Linked DNA regions of Homo sapiens: regions 1, 3 and 4 are each linked to region 2. The links are contacts of gene promoters, found by promoter capture Hi-C in blood cells and fetal thymus (Javierre and others, 2016). All regions are on one chromosome and are shown on one strand. The core of a region is centred on a gene start or on the middle of the fragment in contact, and the rest is flanking DNA. Distances in the headings are between cores, read along the strand shown.

The links. Contacts are between HindIII fragments. The CHiCAGO score rates a contact against its expected background, and 5 or more counts as called.
Region 1: a contact is called between a fragment that was not itself captured here and the fragment with the promoter of MMP24 in region 2, in 1 of 17 cell types (M1 macrophages). The highest score is 5.1, in M1 macrophages.
Region 3: a fragment that was not itself captured here is called in contact with the fragment with the promoter of MMP24 in region 2 in 1 of 17 cell types (M1 macrophages); the score reaches 6.7 in M1 macrophages.
Region 4: a contact is called between a fragment that was not itself captured here and the fragment with the promoter of MMP24 in region 2, in 2 of 17 cell types (megakaryocytes and M2 macrophages). The highest score is 5.8, in megakaryocytes.

The regions. Positions count from the first base shown.
Region 1 is chr20:35,044,420-35,047,119 of GRCh38, reverse strand. TRPC4AP (transient receptor potential cation channel subfamily C member 4 associated protein) reads left to right here. Exons shown (of 19, transcript NM_015638.3): 7 at 2,408-2,615. Among named protein-coding and RNA genes, the nearest start is that of TRPC4AP, 47 kb to the left of the region's middle. The HindIII fragment of the contact is 4,223 bases long and covers 1-2,700 here.
Region 2 is chr20:35,225,411-35,228,110 of GRCh38, reverse strand. MMP24 (matrix metallopeptidase 24) reads right to left here and starts at 1,421. Exons shown (of 9, transcript NM_006690.4): 1 at 1,127-1,421. The coding sequence starts at 1,372. The region is part of intron 3 of MMP24-AS1-EDEM2 (MMP24-AS1-EDEM2 readthrough); the gene reads left to right. The HindIII fragment of the contact is 9,584 bases long and covers 1-2,700 here.
Region 3 is chr20:35,025,076-35,027,775 of GRCh38, reverse strand. All of the region lies in intron 8 of TRPC4AP (transient receptor potential cation channel subfamily C member 4 associated protein), which reads left to right. Among named protein-coding and RNA genes, the nearest start is that of MIR499B, 36 kb to the right of the region's middle. The HindIII fragment of the contact is 1,287 bases long and covers 621-1,907 here.
Region 4 is chr20:35,095,562-35,098,261 of GRCh38, reverse strand. No RefSeq gene overlaps it. Among named protein-coding and RNA genes, the nearest start is that of TRPC4AP, 4.1 kb to the right of the region's middle. RefSeq lists a silencer at 1,791-1,920. The HindIII fragment of the contact is 4,290 bases long and covers 1-2,700 here.

The DNA of each region.
Region 1 (2,700 bases), core at 84-2,583, 180 kb after region 2:
AGGCCGAGGTGGGCAGATCACTTGAGGTCAGGAGACCAGCCTGGCCAACAGGGTGAAACCCTGTCTCTACTAAAAATATAAAAATTAGCCCAGCATGGTGGTGCATGCCTGTAGTCCCAGCTACTTGGGAGGCTGGGACAGAAAAATTGCTTGAACCCAGGAGGCAGAGGTTGCAGTGAGCAGAGATTGTGCCATTGCGCTCTGGCCTGGGCATCACAGTGAGACTCCGCCTTAAAAAAAAAAATCTTAAAATTTAAGACAAAACAAAAAACCATAAGAAGTGGGCTGGGGGTGGTGGGACCTGTTTTGGGAACCATATACTGAGTTAGACAGGGCTAGAGGAACTGGTGAGCTACAAGTTACAGTTGCCAATAATAGTAGTAGCTTACATTTGTTTTGTACTAGGGAAAAGGAAAAGTGGAAGCAGTTGTTCCCCAATGCCCCCTGCACAGCAAATTCCTGTCCTCCATTACTAGAAATAGAGGCGAGTATGGGATTCATGAGAGCTTCTAGGAATCATGCACTCGTTTTGGGCACATTCACTGATACCCTTGCTACCAGGTCCTGTGCATTGAGTCTCAGGAGAAAGGGTAGGATATATGCCTTCATCAAAGTATGGTCAGATTATTTGGGAAATAGATGCAGGAACAGATTATTAAAAGTTCATGTGATCTGTGCAGTGAAAGAGAAACACCCAATCCAGTGGAAGTAAATTAGTGGGATGAAGGATAGCAGGTGTTATCTGAGTAGCACGGGGATGGTTCAAAATGAGAAAAGTTGATGTAGTACATGCCATTTACAGATTTTAAGGAGTAATGAGTGAGAATAGAACCAAATAGCACAAGGCATTCCATAAAATTATCATTCTTAATAAAAGCTAGCAATAGAAGGAAAACTTATAAACTATATATAGGGTATTTATTAAAATTTAACTTATAGGATATTAAAATTTACAGCAAATATTGAACTTAATTTTAATGTTTTGGAATTATTTCTGGTAAAGTCAAGAAAAAGACAAGAATTCTTGCTCTCACTCTGGATAAATGGTCACATACATGTGTACACAGAGAGTACCTGTAAGAATGTTCATTGCAACATTGTTTAATAGTGAAAAACTGTAGTTTACCTAAATATGTATTAAAAGAAGAAAGGGTCAGGCACAGTGGCTCATACATGTAATCCCAGCAGTTTAGGAGGCCAAGGTGGGAGGATTGCTTGAGTCCAGGAGTTCCAGCCTGGGCAACAATAGTGAGACCCTGTCTCCATAAAAATAAAGTATTGGCCAGGCGTGGTAGCTCACGCTTGTAATCCCAGCACTTTGGGAGGCCAAGGTGGATGGATCATCTGAGGTCAGGAGTTCAAGACCAGCCTGGCCAACATGGTGAAACCCCATCTCTACTAAAAAATACAAAAATTAGCCAGGCGTGGTGGCGGGCGCCTGTAATCCCCACTACTTGGGAGGCTGAGGCAGGAGAATCACTTGAACCCAGGAGGTGGAGTTTGCAGTGAGTCAAGATTGCGCCACTGCACTCCAGCCTGGGCGACAATGAGATACCATCTCAAAAAAAAAAATATTAAAAAAGTAGCCAGGTGTAATGACACGCACCTGTAGTCCTAGCTACTTGGGAAGCTGAGGTAGGAGGATTGCTTGGGCCTAGGAGTTTGAGTCTGCAGTAAGCTATGATGACACTACTGCTCCGCAGCTTGAGCAACAGAGTGAGACCCTGTCTCTTAAAAGAGAGAGATGATTAAACTGTGGGGTAAAACGGCGGGAAGTGATTGAATCAGCTGCTTGTATCAGTGTAGATAAACTTCAAAATGTTGGATGAAAAGTAAGGTATAGTATGGTATCATTCACACTGTGCATGCAGAGCAGTAACATGTATTTTAATGGAAATATTTGTAAGTATAAAAACATGCACGGGAATAATAAACACAGAGTTCAAAATAATGTTTACGTCTGCAGGGAGAGAAAAAAATGCGACTGGATGGGGGATACACAGAGGCCTTTAGCTATATTTGAAGTATTTTATTTTTTAAAAAAGCAAATCTGTAGCAAGAATGGTAATTTATGATTTCCAAAACTTGAGTGGTAGGCATTTCCTTTTTTTTTAAATAGGCAAAATATACCACAAGAACAATTGAAAACAGTGGTGCTCAAAAGGTAAATTTAGTCCTCAGACTAATCCTGTGAGGTAGATTAGTTCCGTTTTACAGATAAACAAGCAAAGACTCGAAAGGTTTTTGTAACTTAACCAAAGTTTCAGAGCTGCAAGTTACAGAGCTGGGATAGGAACCTAAGTGATCTAGCCACTAAGCCCCGTATGTAAGGGGATGCGAAAGAGAGGCACATCCAATCTCTTGAGTGAATTGAGCATGGGGATTGTTTCATTTTTGTCTTCTGTAGGAAATGATCCGACTAGATGAAGTCCCCAATCTGAGTTCCTTAGTATCCAATTTCGATCAGCAGCAGCTCGCTAATTTCTGCCGGATTCTGGCTGTCACCATTTCAGAGATGGATACAGGGAATGATGACAAGCACACGCTTCTTGCCAAAAATGCTCAACAGAAGAAGAGCTTGAGTTTGGGGCCTTCTGCAGCTGAAATCAATCAAGGTAAAGTCTCCAAGTTCTCAGAATTTTGAGATTATAGCTCTGAGGCCCTTACTAAATCATCTAGTTTTTTTTCTTTTTCTTTTCT
Region 2 (2,700 bases), core at 172-2,671:
CTGCCTGCTTCAACAAATATACTCCATCTCTTAGGGTGGCGAGGCTATCACTCTGATTTTCCTCAGCAAAACACCATTGTCCCAACATCATTTATTAGAATATTGCAGTCCTCTAGGTTGGAAGATACTAGAGAAATTAGTCCAACTGCACCCCCCATGAGATATAGGATAAGGTCATGGGTAAATAAGGGGAGACTAGAGTCAGCCTGCCTAGGTTAGAATTCCAATTCCATCACTCACTAGCTGTGTGACCTTGGGCAAGTTACTTAAGCTCTTTGAGTCTGTATCCCCATCTGTAAAATGGGGATAATAATTGCAGCTATTTCATAGAGTAGTTATGAGGATTGAATTGGATAATTCGTATAAAACATAGCACCAGGCCTGGCACATAGTGAGTGTTCAGTAAATGCTAGCTGGCATTATTGTGATGATGATGTATGCATCCATGCAAGCATTATGCATGCCTCCATCCAATCCCCTCCGAGAGCTTTTACTTGCACATGCCAGTGATGAGCAGCTCGCCGCCTCCTAAGCTGGTTGAGCAGCTCCAATTGTTACAAACTTCTTCCTATATCGAGCCCAAATTTGTCTTCTTGCAACCCCCACTCCCGCTGGCCCTAGTTCTGCCCTGTGGGGCCAAGCTAGAACAAGTCTATCCTACCTCCACCTGACAGCCCTTCAGCTACGAAGACAGTGATCGAGTCCTTCCTCCGCCCTCCCCCTCCCCCTTCTCCAGCTTGAACATCCTCGGTTTCTTCTCCCAACCCACAACAGACTGGCTGCGCTTACTATTTACTCCGAGGCGTTGTACGGTTTCCCTCGCACATAGTCATGCAGGCCACACACCCCACTGCCAACACAACAAACCCGACCCTCGTGCTCGGCCCCCGCCCGCTGCCCCTGTCCGCGGTGCTGAAGCAGCTCCCGGCCTCGGCGGCCCTCGGCGAGGCCCTCCCCAGCCCCCGCCCTGGGCCGCGCCAGCCCGGACCCAAGGCGCGGACCCCCGGCGCGCCGCCTCCGCGACCTCGGCAGTAGGTGCGGCCCGGCCCAGGCCCGTCCCCGGTGCCGCCCCCCGCCCTGCCCGGATGCCCCGAGCCCGCGCCCCGGCCCCGCGCGCCAGCCCCACCTGCCCGGCGAAGGGCGCCTCCGCCTCGTCCGCCCGCGCCACCGCCACCGCCACCGCTGCCCGGTTCCCTGCCCCCGCCGCCGCCGCCGCCGCCCGCGCGGCGCCCGGGAGGCAGCAGAGCGCGGGCAGCAGCAGCAGCAGCAGCCGCCCAGGGACCCGCCAGCGGCTCCAGCGCGGGGCCTGGCCCGGCGGCGGCGGCGGCGGCGGCGGCCCCGGCGCGGCGCGGCCGCCCCGGCTCCTCGGCATCCCGGCGGCGGGGCCCGCGCCCGGCCCGCCTGCCTTCGCCGCCGCCGCCGCCGCCTCGGCCGCCAGCGCGCCCCCGCCTCCGCGCGCCCCGCCCCGGTGGGGGGCGGCCGGGGGCGCGGGGGCAGCACCCGGGCGGGACCTGCGAGGGCAGTGGCTCCCCGACCAGCCCTGGGGCAGGGGCCGCGGAGCGGCGCTGGGGAGGGGGTTGCAGAGGCTAAAAGAACAGTTCTAGAGGCAGGGTCCGAAGGGGTGGAACTGGAGGTCGGGGTCTGGGGGTAGCCCTGAGCAGGAGGGGGAAGAGGCTAAATCAGTAATCCTGGAGGTAGAACAACTGGATGGCCCTGGGGGAACATATCCGGGGTTGGGGGTCCGGAACCCTGGGGAGAGGGTCCTAGGGAGTGGCATTGGAGGAGAGGGGGCCTGAGAGGCAGCCTGGGGGAGGAGACTGAGGAGCGGCTCTGGGGTAAAGGCGGGGTTCGAGAGCAAGCTAAAGAAATAGCCCTGGGTCTGAGAGGGTGACTCCGGAGAGGGAGCTCTGAGTGGCTCTCCTGGGCCGGGGTGGTGGGGGAAAGGGGTAGAGAAGACCTGAGGAGCGTTTAAGAGGGGGCATTCCTGTGAGACATTAGGTGAAGTTGAGGTGAAGCTCAGTCCCTCACCCCTAGAGGGAAAGAGCTCATCCAGCTGGGAAGATCATCTTTCATCCAAAACAACCCATATTTATCAAGCGCTTTCTATTTGTAGGGCTCTGGGCTACTTGGGATGCTGAAAGGAAAAAAAAAAACACCCAAAAACAAAAACAAAAAAGAGAAGGCCGATTTCCTGGAGTGCAGAGGTTTACAGCTTGATGAGAAAACATAAACGCAAAGAAAAACAGAATGGCAAACACCACGTGTCAACAAGGATACAGGCGGCTGCTCCAGGGGTCGAGGGAGACCTGATGAGGGGCTGGGGAAGTTAGGAAAAAGTGTAATGGAGGAGGGTGGGACTCTAGCTAGGACCTGAAGGAAAGGCTGGATTTAAACCAGGGGAGGGGAGAGGAGAGGGCATTTCAGGGAGGAAGTTGAGGGTGTACAGGATGTGCCTGAGGCGGCAGATAAGTTTCTCTGGAGCACAGGGTTCCTATAGGAAAGTGTTGGGAAGTGAGGGAAGTTGTACAAGACAGTGAATGCTAGGATAATAAATTTGGGTTGTGTTCTGAAGGAAAATGGGGGAGGGTGGTCATTAAAGGTTGTGTGTGTGTGGTGTGTGTGTGTGTATGTGTGTGTTTAAGCAGGATGATGTGTGAAAATAGTATTTTATGATTACGTGGTAATTTGGAGATGAAAAAA
Region 3 (2,700 bases), core at 15-2,514, 200 kb after region 2:
AACCTAGATGAAATGAGCAAGTTAAAAGACACAAACTATTGCAGCTAACTCAGGAAGAAATAGAAAACCTGAAGTATAACAACGAGATTGAATAAATAATGAAAAACTGCCCACAAAGAAAAGTCCTGGCCCACATGGCTTCACTGGTTAATTCTACCAAATGTTTCAAGAAGAATTCACACCAATACTTTCCAGACTCTAATAGAAAATAAAAGAGGAAGGAACAGTTCCCAACTTACTCTTTGAGGTCATATTATCATGATACCAAAACCAGATAAAGACATCACAAGACCAGTATCTCTTATGATTATAGGTGCAAAAATCTTCAACAAAATACTAGCACACCAAGTATAGCAACATACAAGGATTGTATACCATGACCAAATGGATTTATGCAAGTTTGGTTCAACATTTGAAAATCAGTTTATGTAATACACTGTGTTAATAGAATAAAGGACAAAAACCACATGATCGTTTCCATAGGAGCAAAAAAGCATTTGACAAAATCCAACACCCTTTCATGGTAAAAACAAAAACTCAGGAGAGAACTTCCTCAGCCTGTTAAAGGGCATCTACAAAAACCCATGGCTGACATACCTAATGGCAAAAAATTGAAAGCTTCTACCACTAAGATCAGGAACAAGACGAGTTCCTGATCGTTTCTGGAAGTGGCAGTGCCATTGCCACTTCTCTTCAGCATCGTATTGGAGGTTCTGGCTAGGGCAGTTAGGCAAGAAAAAGAAATTAAAGGCATGCAAATTAGAAAAGTAGTGAAACTGTTCACAGATGGGATGATCTTATATGTAGAAAAATCTAAGGAATCTACTATAAAAACCAGTAAACTAATAAATAGGTTCAACAAAGGTTCAGAATACAAGGCTAATATTAAAAAATGAGTAGTATTTCTATAGAGTAGCAATCAACAAACCAAAAATTAAGAAAACAATTTTATTTATAATAGGATCAAAAAAATAAAATACTTAGGAACTTAAGTGTAAAACTTATACTCTGAGAATTCTAAAACATCATTGAAAGAAATTAAACCCTAAATAAATGTAAAGACATCCCATGTCTTTGAATCAGAAAATTAATATTGTTAAGATAATGATAGTCCCATTCTGATCTATAGATCAGCCTTACAGATTCAACACAATTTCTGTCATAACTCTCAGCTGACTACTTTGCACAAATGGAGTAGCTGATCCTAAAGTTCATGTGGAAATGCAGGAGACTTGGATTAACAAAAACAGTCTTGAACTAGGCCGGGTACAGTGACTCATGCCTGTAATCCCAGCACTTTGGGAGGCTGAGGCAGGAAGATCACTTGGCCTCAGGAGTTTGAGGCCAGCCTGGGTAACATAGTGAGACCCCTGTCTCTATAAAAAATTTAAAAATTAGGCAAGCCTCGTGACACCCACCTATAGTCCCAGCTACTCAAGAGGCTGAGGTGGGAGGGTAGCTTGAGCCCAGGAGTTTGAGGCTGCAGTAACCTGTGATTGTGCCACTGCACTCCAGCCTGGGTGACAGCAAGACTCTGTCTCAAAAAAAAAAAACAACCTAAGACAACTCACATCCTGACTTGAAAACTTACTACAAAGCTGCAATCGAGACACTATGCTGCTGGCCTGAGGATAGACATATTGATCAATGGAATATTGTTGAGAGTTCAGAAATAAACCCTCATGCTTATTATGATCAATTGATTTTCAGTGGGTACCAAGACCATTCATTGGTGGAAACAGTAGTAGTCTTTTCAACAAATGGTATTGGGACCATTTGATGTCCACATGCGAAAGAATGAAGTTAGATCCCCTGCCTTATGTCATATACAAAATTAAAAGGGTCAAAGACCTAAATGTAAGAGCTAAACCTGTGAAACCCTTAGAAGAAAACATAAGGATAAAGCTTCATGACCTTGGATTTAACAATTTAGCTGTCATACACAATGACATCTGAAGCACAAGCAACCAGATAAATAATAAATTGGACTTCATCAAAATTAAAACTTTTTGTTCTTCAGAAAACACAATGAGGAAAGTGAAAAGAGAACCCACAGAATGGAAGAACGTTTTTTGTGGGTAAGGCAGGGTGGGACATCTTTGCAAATAATATATCTAATAAGGGATTTGTATCTAGAATGTATAAAGAACTCTCATAACAATAATAAAAAAACCCATTTCAAAATATAGACAAAGGATCTGAATAGATGTTTCTCCAAAGAAGATATATAAATAATTATTAAGCACGTGAAAAATGTTCACCATCATTAGCCGTCAGGGAAATGCAAATCAAAACCACAGTGAGGCCAGGCACAGTGGCTGGCACCTGTAATCCCAATACTTTGGGAGGCCAAGGCAGGAGGATTGTTCAAGACCAGCTCAAACAACAGAGCAAGACCTCATCTCTACAAAAAAAAATTTTGTTTCGGTTAGCCAGGCATGGTGGCACGTGCCCATAGTCCTGACAACTTGGGAGGCTGAGGTGGGAGGATTGTTTGGGTCCAGAGTTCAATGCTGCAGTGAGCTGTGATCCTGCCACTGCACTTAAGTAGTCTAGATGATAGAGGAAAAAACAAACCCCACAATGATATAGTACTTCATACTCACTAGAATGGTTATCATCAAAAAAGGTGGATAATAAGGGTTGGCAAGAATATGGAGAAATCAGAGCCCTCAGTCACTATTAGTGGGCATGTAGAAT
Region 4 (2,700 bases), core at 13-2,512, 130 kb after region 2:
AATTTCTTGGGTGTGATGGTATCATAGTTTTTAGGAGCATGTCCTTGATCTTAGGAGATACATTCTAAAATATGCAGGTGAAGTGTCATAATATCTACAATTTACTTTCAAATGGTTTAGCAAAAAATGGCTTAGCAGGATGGGTGCAGTGGCTCACATCTGTAATCCCAACACTTTGAGAGGCTGAGATGGGAGGATCCCTTGAGCCCAGGAGCCCAAGGCTACAGTGAGCTATGATCGTGCCACTGCACTCCAGCCTGGGCAACAGAGCGAGACCCTGTCTAAAAAAAAAAAAATGTTTAGCAAAACTAACACAAACCCTCTCTACGTATAAATGAAGTATAGAGAGAGATACATATATGGAAAGAGCTGTATATATACATATATGTATATATACATATATGTATGTGTATATATGTATATATACACATATATATGTATGTATATGTATATATACACATATGTACGTATATGTATATATGTGTATGTATATATACACATATGTATATATGTATATATACACATATATGTATATATGTATATAGGCACACATGTATATATGTATATAGGCACACGTGTATATATGTATATATACACACGTGTGTATATGTATATATACACACGTGTGTATATGTATATATACACACGTGTGTATATGTATATATACACACGTGTGTATATGTATATATACACACGTGTGTACATATGTATATATACACACGTGTGTACATATGTATATATACACACGTGTGTACATATGTATATATACACACGTGTGTACATATGTATATATACACACGTGTGTACATATGTATATATACACACGTGTGTACATATGTATATATACACACGTGTGTACATATGTATATGTATATACACACGTGTGTATATATGTATATGTATATACACACGTGTGTATATATGTATATGTATATATACACGTGTGTATATATGTATATGTATATATACACATATATGTACATATGTGTATATATGTATATGTATATATACACATATATGTACATATATGTGTATATATACACAGAGAGAAAGATAAAATATAGTTTTAGTAGCTGACAAGTCTAAGCAAAGGGTATATGAGTGTTAATGGTGTATCTTTTAACTTTCTGTAGATTTGAAAAACTTCCCCAAAAATGCTGCGAGAATAATAAGATAGTGCAAAGAAAGTGCTTGGCCAATGGTAAGTGCTCAATAAAGGGTAGATCTTACCCAGAAGTATAAGCCCCATGAGGGCAGGAAATTTTGTTTATTTTATTTAGCACAATATCCACAGCACCTATAACAGTGCCTGGCACATAAGATAGTACTTAACAAACATTTAAAAGACAAATCATGGAGAGGTTGTACATTAGAAATGTAATGTAAAAAAAAATCACTGTAAAAAATGACACCACAGGACAATGCATAGTTGCATGGGACAGCTGTTACCATGGCCTGATATAACAGTGCCAGTTGCTTTGATTAAAGTGACTTCTTGGCAGGGTGCCATGACTCATGCCTGTAATCCCAGCACTTTGGGAGGCTGAAGCGGGAGGATTGCTTGAGCCCAGGAGCTTGGCGGCTGCAGTGAGCTATAATCACACCACTGTACTCCAGGCTGGGCCACAGAGCAAGACTTCAAAAAAAAAAAAAAAAAAAAAAGTCCCAGAAAATCTGTCTGCCCAATTGAGATGAGTTTGGCGATTTATTTACAAGAGTTAATGTTCTCTGAATAGCATCATCATGTTTGGTTAAGCCATTTGGGATTACGGTGGAAAAAAAATTAGCCAGTTTGGGAGCTTCATTTTTTTTCTAGTGCTGATTAAAATTGACATCAACAGACCTCTGGTGGGAGAGGTACTTCGCCCTCTGGTGGTGAGAGACACTCAGCTTTTTTTTTTTTTTTTTGAGACAGAGTCTTGCTCTGTGGCCCAGGCTGGAGTGCAGTGGCGCGATCTCGGCTCACTGCAAACTCCGCCTCCCGGGTTCAAGCAATTCTCCTGCCTCAGCCTCCAGGGCAGCTGGGACTACAGGCGCGCTTCACCCCGCCCAGCTAATTTTTGTGTTTTTGGTAGAGACGGGGTTTCACCATATTGACCAGGCTGGTCTCGAACTCCTGACCTCGTGATCTGCCCGCCTCGGCCTCCAAAAGTGCTGGGATTACAGGCCTGAGCCACCGCGCCTAGCCTCAGCTAGTTTCTACGGAAAAGGCTGGCAGAGCAGAGGTGAAGTGGAAAAGAGTGTCTTTCCACAGAGGTTTCTGGAAACATGTCCCCTTACTTCATGGTCACATGGTATCTGTAAGGACTGAATTTGAGGTTGTCATTTTTGACCCAGTGAATACCCAGCTTTGGTGAATGCCTGGGCCAGGCTAGACTGACAAAGATAGGAACTGAGGAATGGAAAGTGACATTTGCAGTTGGGTCAAAGCTGAGGTGGGAAGATTTGTCCCTAGCATGATGAGTGCCAAGGGAAACCTGGAGGGCCATGTGAACTGTGAAATTAGTCAGGATCCTGTCTCCTCACCGCGACAAGGGTGAGAATATCCATCACCATATGCCTCAGGAAGAGCTCTGGGTGGAATCCCTGGGCTGTGGATTCCCTGGTAAGGCTGGCTGCTGCCCGGACAGCTCACCAATGCCCTGTTTGTATCCCTGGAAATGCCTTTTCTTTTTATGTCTTTTTAAAGTTAATTTCACA